Linked DNA regions of Homo sapiens: region 1 is linked to region 2. Evidence: promoter capture Hi-C in human tissues and cell types (Jung and others, 2019). All regions are on one chromosome and are shown on one strand. The core of a region is centred on a gene start or on the middle of the fragment in contact, and the rest is flanking DNA. Distances in the headings are between cores, read along the strand shown.

Evidence for each region. Contacts are between HindIII fragments. The study calls those that stand out against the background at their distance.
Region 1: a contact is called between a fragment that was not itself captured here and the fragment with the promoter of ETFA in region 2, in 1 of the 25 tissues and cell types used here (mesenchymal stem cells).

Annotation. Positions count from the first base shown.
Region 1 is chr15:76,500,849-76,505,825 of GRCh38, forward strand. SCAPER (S-phase cyclin A associated protein in the ER) reads right to left here. Exons shown (of 32, transcript NM_020843.4): 24 at 4,011-4,126. Among named protein-coding and RNA genes, the nearest start is that of MIR3713, 83 kb to the right of the region's middle. The HindIII fragment of the contact is 4,231 bases long and covers 1,573-4,977 here.
Region 2 is chr15:76,308,377-76,313,152 of GRCh38, forward strand. ETFA (electron transfer flavoprotein subunit alpha) reads right to left here and starts at 3,093. Exons shown (of 12, transcript NM_000126.4): 1 at 2,974-3,093. The coding sequence starts at 3,012. RefSeq lists enhancers at 2,345-2,845, 2,846-3,346, 3,556-3,605, 3,666-3,715. The HindIII fragment of the contact is 24,969 bases long and covers 1-4,776 here.

The sequences.
Region 1 (4,977 bases), core at 2,438-4,937, 190 kb after region 2:
GGCTAACATCGTGAAACCCTGTCTCTACTAAAAATACAAAAAAAAAGAGCCAGGCATGGTGGCGTGTGCTTGTAATCCCAGTTACTCGGGAGGCTGAGGCACGTGAATCGCTTGAACCCAGGAGGCGCAAGTTACAGTGAGCCGAGATGGCACCACTGCACTCCAGCCTGGGTGACGGAGTAAAACCCTGTCTAAAAAAAAAAAAAAAGTTTGTAGGCAGAATAACATTAGTCTACCCCAAAGGAGATACAAACTGCCTTGTTTCAGGGTGATCTTTCTTGGCACTGAAAACAATTTTATTGGAGTACATTTGTTTAAATGATTGATTTTGTAATAACACATCCTGACCTAAGCCCTTTCAATGATAACTTGAAAATAATTAAAGCAGTTTTATGGCCTTTCCCTGGTTCTGATAAGAGCAAAACAACCTACTGCAGACTCAGAAAGGTTTCAAAAAGTTACATTTCCAGAAGTAGGTATAACTCTCAATTTCATGTAAAAAAAAAAAAAAAAAAGCTTCTGGAAGCAAATATTCATTCACACGAAGTTGCTTAATTATAGGACAAACAAGACATGCAACTACTGACGTACTATGTGAAGTAAAAAGATATGAACAGGATGGTAAGAAAAGAGGACAGGAAGCTGGTTTATCCACTAACAAAGAGTCAGGGCTTCAGAAGCAGTGACACGTAAGGTTTATGGCCATAGGACTCTAGGTTTCAACAGGGTAACTGTTATGAGACAGTGGCTTAAACTTATCAAATCCTCTGCTATTTATCACTGAGAAAAATTAAACAGGATATTCTAAACTAGCCTCCTTAGGTAAAAGCCATGAAATGCCACAGGAGGCAGGAAACAGCAAGGGCTAAGGTGGCAAAAGGTTCATGGAGTTGAGGGGTGGGAACCCGCTAGGGATGGAAAGATTCTGGACAGGCTGAGAACAAAGAAGTGCCCAGGGACTATGGAAAGCCCAAGGCCTGGGCAGGGATTTGTGCAGGAGAGCAACTGGAAGGAAAATGAGAAAGAGTATTTTTTGAAGTAAGCCACTGACTCATGTCCACCAGTATGCTCTTATTCTACATTTAAATCTGAAGTGGTTACAAAATTCCTCTTGCTGTTCTCTGAGTAAACAGCATAACACTCTCCTGGCTTTAATCCTTTAGCCCTGAAAATTGAAGCTGGTTTAGAAAGTAGAGTTATGATATGGAGACTGTGCTGAGGATAGAAGAATCTTAGAGTCAATGCTGGATGCCCACAGCTCTGGGTGCTAGACTCCCTTAATAAGTAGCACTTAGTTGAAAACACAAATCTATTGTGAATAGTGCCACAATAAACATACATGTGTATGTGTCTTTACAGCAGCATGATTTATAATCCTTTGGGTATACAGCCAGTAATGGGATGGCTGGGTCAAATGGTATTTCTAGTTCTAGATCCTTGAGGAATCGCCACACTCTCTCTTGGAACCAACCCAAATGTCCATCAATGATAGACTGGATTAAGAAAAATGTGGCACATATACACCGTGGAATACTATGCAGCCATAAAAAAGGATGAGTTCATGTCCTTTGTAGCGACATAGATGAAGCTGGAAACCATCATTCTCAGCAAACTATCGCAAGGATAGAAAACCAAACACCACATGATCTCACTCATAGGTGGGAATTGAACAATGAGAACACTTGGACACAGGGTGGGGAACATCACACACCGGGGCCTGTCGTGGGGTGGGAGGAGGGGGGAGGGATAGCATTAGGGGATATACCTAATGTAAATGATGAGTTAATGGGTGCAGCACACCAACATGGCACATGTATACATATGTAACAAACCTGCACGTTGTGCACATGTACCCTAGAACTTAAAGTATAATTTAAAAGAAAAGAAAACACAAATCTATTGGCTTAAAGTGAGATGAAGGAACAAGCTCTTAATCCTGACCCTGTGGGTCAGCTAGTGCTGACCAGCTGCAGGGCACTGGTCTGGACTCTCAAGATTCCACAGCTCCTTTGCAAAGGAAGTGTGCTAATTCTTGCTTAGGTCTTTATAGGAACTGTGGACGCCTCTTCCATTTCCTAAACAAGAGGCAGAGATAAGCACCAGAACAACATACTCTGTCACAATGACAATAGCAGCTTTTGGGAAATAGGCATTTAATCCAGGTTACCAATCAGAGAGCTTAGTGTCATGCACGTTGAAGCCTACCAGAAAACAAAACAAAACAAAACAAAACAAAAACAAAACAAAAAACCTCCAGGTGAATTTAAGATGAACAATATAAATTATTAACAGTTATCAAAGCACTCTCCCAAAGAATCAATATCATTTCCTTTCTTATTTCAAATATTTATTATATTTCATTCCTTTCTTCCTTTCTACCTTCCTCCCTGCCAATTAACATACAGTAAGTGAAGATAACCTGCCCAGCAACACCCTGTAAATAAAGTCCATATTGATAAGGAATAGCAACCCTTCTGGGTTATAAAAACCACTATGCATGCTATAACTTGCCTGATGGGGAGCTTTCTGCTCCACAGAAAGATTTCCTGACTTAAAGAATACCTATACCATTCTTCATTAATCTTTGTGAATAGAGGAAAGGAATCCAAATTATCTTTAATGTCAAAAGCTTGTACTTAGAAATATCTCATGTCAGGTAGCTAGCACTGTCTAAACTCTCACTTAACATTTATAATGTAACTTTACATTATAATATACAAATATACACTATAATGAACACTTAACAGTTTACAAAGAGGTCTCATATATGTTATTTCAACCGGTCCCATAGTAGCACCACGAGGTGAATATGATTACATTTATTTTTCCAAATAAGGAAACAGATGCAATGAAATTAAGGCACTCACTCAAATTTTCTTAGCTAGTAGCCTGGCAGAGGTAAAACTAGAACCCATGTTTGTCCTACTCCAAAGCCAATGCTATTTCTTTTTAATACAAATGCCTCTCAGAAAAAAAAGATAACATACTCTTGGAATTTTTTTTCCTGTTGTATCCAATGGACAAATGAAGCATTTACTTTTTTTTTTTTCTTTTTGAGACAGGGTCTTGCTCTGTTGCCCAGACTAGAATGTGGTGATGCAATCATGGTTCACAGCAGCCTTGACCTCCTGGGCTCTAGTGATCCTTCCTTTCTTAGCCTCCTGAGTAGCTGGGACTACAGGTGTGTGCCACTATGCCTGGCTAAATTTGTTAATGTTTTGTAGGGACGGGGTCTCGCTACATTGCCCAGGCTAGCCTTGAACTTCTGGCCTCAAGTGATCCTCCTGCCTTGACCTCCCAAAGTGCTGGGATCATAGATGTGAGCCATTGCGCCCTGCCTAAATGAACTTTTATTAAAACCTCTTATTTAAACTCTGTAAATAAGAGTCTCCACAAAATACCCAGAAACTGCAGACGTTACAACCCAGGAACACAATACTTCTGAAACAACATTGCTGCTATACCCCAGGTGGCCAGGGACTAAAGGGGGACTTAAGAGAACAGGAAAGCAATTTACCGTTAAAGACCAACGTGCAACTCAGTTCCCAGCAATTTGGCTGGGATGCTAGACTATGGCACTCTTCGCCTCTGACTGCTCTTCCTGTATGGTAGGAACTTCTTGCAATTTCACAGCTCAGACTTTTGCTAATGTACTTACTCACCTCTTTTTTCACATGTAACACAGTAAGTTAGCTTTCTGTTACTATTATTTATTTTGCTCAATTTTTGGAAGCAGTTAGAATTGCTCAAGAGTTCATCAATTCTTCTTGATTTCAGATTAGAGCACATCACAGACCAAAGAGATTTCCTTTATAAGGCTTTTTAGGCTCAATTTGAGTTTCGTAAGTGACGTTGAGCACCTCTGTTTTTCTCCCTAATGGGGAGTGTAAGATTTTGGTATTCAACCCTGAATACACATACAATTTTCTTGTGGTTCTCCATATGGAAACCATAGGGCAGAAATGACTCACAAATGAAACGTAAAAAATAGATTAAGAAACTATACTTACTTAGGAGGAATTCTTAAAACTGTGTTCACATTTGTGGCTGGGACTACTGCTTGAAGGATGTGTTCAAGGGCTGTTAATCCACCAGCAGCTTGAAATGCAATCTGATCTGCCACATTCTAGACAGAAATACAAACAGAAGTTAGCCCAATTTCCCAGGCATTAAACTATAACCAAATGATATCTGTAGTCTGAAACATACTGATGGTTCAACTATTCTACAAATATTATTTTATAAATATTTGCTGAATGCTACTCACTGCTAATTGTTTCAGTACTAGGAAATATAGGTCAAAAGGAGTGAGCATAAAACATATGGTTGCTGTCCTCCATGAAGCTTAAAATTGGTAGATGGCAAGCACAGGCAACCAAAGCAAAAATGGACAAGTGGGATCACATCAAGTTAAAAAGCTTCTGCACAGCAAAGGAAACAATCCACCAAGCAAAGAGACAACCCACAGAATGGGAGAAAATATTTACAAACTATCTATCTGACAAGGGATTAACAACCAGAATATATAAGAGCTCAAACAACTCTGTAGGAAAAAATCTAATAATCCAATTTTAAAATGGGCAAAAAATCTGAATAGACATTTCTCAAGAGAAGACATACAGATGGCAAACAGGCATAGGAAAAGGTGCCCAACATCACTGATCATTAGAAAAATGCAAATCAAAACTACAGTGAGATATCATCTCACCCCAGTTAAAATGTCTTTTATCCAAAGACAGGTAGTAACAAATGCTGGTGAGGATGTGGAGAGGGAACTCTCATACACTGTTCGTGGGAATGTAAATTAGTACAATCACTATGGAGAATAGTTTGGAGATTTTTCAAAAAACTAAAAACAGAGCTGCCATATGACCCAGCAATTCCACTGGTAGGTATATGCCCAAAAGAAAGGAGATCCATATATCTAAGAGATATCTGCTCTCCCATATTTACTACAGCACTATTCACAATATAGCC
Region 2 (4,776 bases), core at 1,843-4,342:
AAACAACACTTTGGCTAAGTAACTAAAGTCAGCATTACCACTAATGGGATAAACCAACATTAAGTACCTGCTAATATGATGCACGGGGAACACAATACCACTTTTGTGATATTCCCACCAAGAATACATGACCTGAATCTAATCATGAGGAAACACCAGACAAACCCAAATTGAGTGACAGTCTGGAAAATAGAAGGCCTGTACTCTTCAAATACACCAATGTCATCAAACCCAAAGGAAGGCTGAGGAACCTTTCTAACAGAGTAAAGAGACATGAAAACCACTTGCAGGACATCTAGAGTATCTTAGACCAGAATAAGGAAAATTGCTATAAACTGTACTAATGGGACAACTGGCAAAATTGAACATCCATAGATTAGAAAACAGTATTTTATGGTGAAACTTCCAGATATTGCCAATTACAGTGTAGTTAGAAAGTGAACCTCTTTGTTCTTTTAAAATATCACTCAATTATTTAGGAGTAAAGGGCACATTTGCAACATACTTTCAAATGGTTCAGAAAGATAGTATTATGTATATATGTGGAAAGATAAAGCAAATGTGTCAAACTGCTAACATGCTGGGAAAACCAGGGGAAGGGTTTTGAGATTTCTTTGTACTATTCTTGCAACTTTTCTATAAGTGCAACTATTTCAAAATTTAAAAAGTTAAATACAGGTATATGTCCCTATTAATATATGGGTCCACTTTAGAAGTGTTGCCACCATTTCTTTTATGCTAGAAATCCAAATCTCTCCAACATTCTTAATGACTTTAAAACAGCTATTCTAGGCTGGGCGCGGTGGCTCACGCCTGTAATCCCAGCACTTTGGGAGGCCAAGGCGGGCGGATCATGAGGTCAGGAGATCGAGACCATACCGGCTAACACAGTGAAACCCCCGTCTCTACTAAAAATACAAAAAAATTAGCGGGGCGTGGTGGCGGGTACCTGTAGTCCCAGCTACTCAGGAGGCTGAGGCAGGAGAATGGCGTGAACCCGGGAGGCGGAGCTTGCAGTGAGCTGAGATCGCGCCACTGCACTCCAGCCTGGGCGACAGAGCGAGACTCCGTCTCAAAACAAACAAACAAACAAACAAAAAAAACAGCTATTCTACTTAGCTTGACTTCAAATTTTAAAAATAAGTCAAGGTCAAAGTCTTTGGCAAACCACAATGAATATCTGGAAGTAATGTCTATACACATTAGCCAACGATGTGGATAGTAAAAATTACTTAATCATTCCATTTTTTTCTGTTAGCTCTACAAAATTACTGAGTCCTAAATTCCATCCCCCACCACAATTATAATTTCACTTAGGCCAGACTTGTAATCTGTCCACAAAACTGTTTTCCAACTGCTGCATAGAGCAGCATTCTTCTGGCTCAGGTTCCTGGAATTTCCCCAAATTCATGATTTTCACTTGTTTATGTCTAGATCCCCAACCGGGAGAAAACATGTCCTGAGGGGAAGACAGGACACTAACCTGAAAGACATGGGTTTGAACTCTTTAGGGGAGGGGAGGGTCAGAACTTTTTATTAAACAAGGAATACGCACAAGAAAAAAGATGTCTAAGGCCAGGTGCGGTAGCTCAGGCCTGTAATTCCAGGACTTTGGGAGGCCGAGGCAGGTGGATCACTTGAGGACAAGAGTTCGAGACCAGCCTGGGTAACATGGGGAAACCCCGTCTCTACAAAAAAAAAAAAAAAAAAAAAAAAAAAATTAGCCAGGCGTGATGATGCGCACCTGTGATCCCAGCTTCTCGGGAAGCTGAGGTGGGAGAATCGCTTGAACCTGGGAGGCGACGGTTGCAGTGAGCCCATATCGTGCCACTGCACTCCACTCCAGCATGGGAAACAGAGCCAGACCTTGTCTCTTAAACAAACAAACAAACAAACAAACAAAAGTCTAATGTCTACAGACATCTAGAAAGAGCTCCAGCTATGCCTCAGAGAGAAAAATCCCAGGAGTGGATGGGAAAATATCCATGCCCAGAAAAAAAAAAAAAAAAAAAAAAAGGAGAAAAGGTACAAACCATCAGGTAAGTTTCTGACCCAAGTTTACCAATCTTGTTTCTCATTTCACCTAAATGTAAACTAGGAAAACTACACAATCCACAATATAAATTATTGTTACTTGACTTGTGACTGGTCAGTCTCCAAATACTCCTTTCCCACAGCATGAGAAGGAAAATATGTTTCCTATCAGTCCTTCTCACAACAGAAGAGAGAAATGTGGTTTGTCACTAATGAAACACTGAAAATGTACCACTGTCACCAGTTAACCTAATCTACAATCTGCTGGTTAAAAGCAGGTCAGCCTGAAGCATATAAAAAGACGTCTGCCTTTCAAAACTGGCTAAAGCTGTCAAATCGGATCGCAGGTTTTACAAATACAATCACCTAAATTCAGCCCTGCTCCATAAACCAGAAAGCAGAACCAGCTTCCATAACTGGCCACGCAGCCTCCCACCCCACCCCACCCCCGCCCTTGACAGTGAGTGGGTCGGAGTAGCCACGATGCGCCCAAAGTGTTTAATTCTTCCAGAAATGCCGGCCTCCGGGAGGAATCTAGGTTTGAAACTTTCCCCAACAGGGCATTCCCCGGTGACATTTTGCTCCCTCGGGTGTGGAGCAAGTGTGGAGGACCTGGCGGCCCGAAAGTGCCCAGAGTGACCGACAAAGGTGGGAAACGGCAGGGCAGAGAGTGGGCCAGAAGAAGGGGCAGCAGACGCGCAAATTCACATCATTCGGGGTCACCCTGACCCCAAACCTCTGACTTCTGCCCCGAACTGGCGTTCCGCAGGGAGTCCAGGGTAGGCCCCAGAACTTTGGACCCAAGTCCCAGGCGGGGACCGGCCTGCGGGCGCGAGGGCTGGTCGAATCTGAGGGGGCCAGTGATCTTTGCAAGACCCCATAGGGACGGCGGGTTGACGGGGGGCCGTCCCTGGGTTCGCCTTCCCAGTCCGGACTCACCGCCCGCCGGAGCTGCCCCGGAGCCGCCGCTCGGAACATGGTCTCCGCTTCCGCCGCAACCTCGGCCTTACAGCAGCCCCGTGCCCGGCCAACTGGCGCCGCCTCAGCCAGTCACCTAATGCTCGCGAGACGCGCGAACGAGATAAGACGCCCTAGGCCGGGAGCACGAGCCCGCGGTTTCCGCCTGCCCATTGGGCGGCTGCGCAGCCAATAGACGGCGGGAAGTTAGGGGCTAGACTGGGAAGTGGGGCAAAGGTGAGGCTATTCCCCGGGGACCTTCGAGTAAGCCCGGGCCGCGGAGCGGCAGAGACAAAGCTGGCCACCCGCTGATGACCGAGCTCAGACTGTACTGTCTCACAGCCCCGCAATGGTCAGCACTGCTAGAGTGAACTTCAAAACTGAGCTGACCTCGGGGTAAGGTACGAGTGGAGCCTTGCCAATTCCAATTAGATACCTTTCCTATATGCCCCTATTTCCCCCTGTATTTCCCCATGGTAGCAATTGTCACATGGGTTGTAATAACCTAAGTACTTGTCTGTGTCACCCATCTGACTGAAGATCTGTAAGGGCAGAAAGTATGCCCTTTTTTTTTTTTTTTTTTTTGAGAGAGAGAGAGTCTCCCTCTGTCACCCTGGCTGGAGTGCAGTGGCGCGAGCTCAGCTCACTGAAAGCTCCGCCTCCCGGGTTCACTCCATTCTTCTGCCTCAGCCTCCCGAGTAGCTGGGACTACAGGCGCCCGCCACCACGCCCAGCTAATTTTTTTGTATTTTTAGTAGAGACGGGGTTTCACAGTGTTAGGCAGGATGGTCTCGATCTCCTGACCTCGTGATCCGCCCGCCTCGGACTCCCAAAGTGCTGGGATTACAGGCGTGAGCCACCGCGCCCGGCCAGTATGCCCTACTTTTAAATTTTGTGTCTACCTGCAACACCTAGCACAATGCCTGGTCCATACTAGGCATTCAATCAGTATGTGTTGAATGAATAAGCAAATGAATAAATGACTGCTAATGAGTCTGGACTTTAACACGAAATTTTTAAGAGGGAAGTGGTATGTTCAGAAATTGTCTCAATTCCCAATTCAGCAACAACCTACCTTTCCAATGTTATCTAGTCTATCAACAAATCCCGTTGACTCTACCTTCAAAAGATAACCAGAATCCAGCAATATCCTCCAACACCCCTTTGCTCCTCTGCTGGTATCACCTTCACTCAGGACCCTGTCCTCTCTCGCCTGGATCATTGCAAAGCCTCCTAACTGGTCTTTCTGTTTCTGCCCATGTTTCCAGAAGCCTCTTCTCCAAACTGATGGACTGATCATGACCTCTGCTCAAAGCCCTATGGTGGCTCCCTCTCCTCCCACTGCCCTCTTCTCTCACTGTTCCCCAGATACATAGGCCTTCTTGAGCACACAAGCCTGCTCCTCTCAGAGTTTTGCACTCTGGCTCTTCCCTCTGCCTGAAATGGCCTTCTCTTGTTACCCGCGTGGCGTACTTCCTCACTTCATTCAGGTCTCTGCTCAAAAAACACATTTGCAGAAAGGCCGGCCTTAGCCTCTCCACCTAAAATAGCACCCATGCCACTCCCAGACGCCCTATCACCTTGTTTGATTTTTTTTCTTGGCATTTATCACTGCCTAACAGGATGCACATGTTTGTTTATTGCTGATCTCACTGCATTGGAGTGTAAATTCCCTGAAGCAAGAGCTTTGTCTGAACTAACAAGCACTCTAAGGGCCTTGCGCTTTTGCTCTTCCCTCTGTCTGAAATTCCCTTCCCCATCTGACAGCCCTCTTTAAAACCCAGA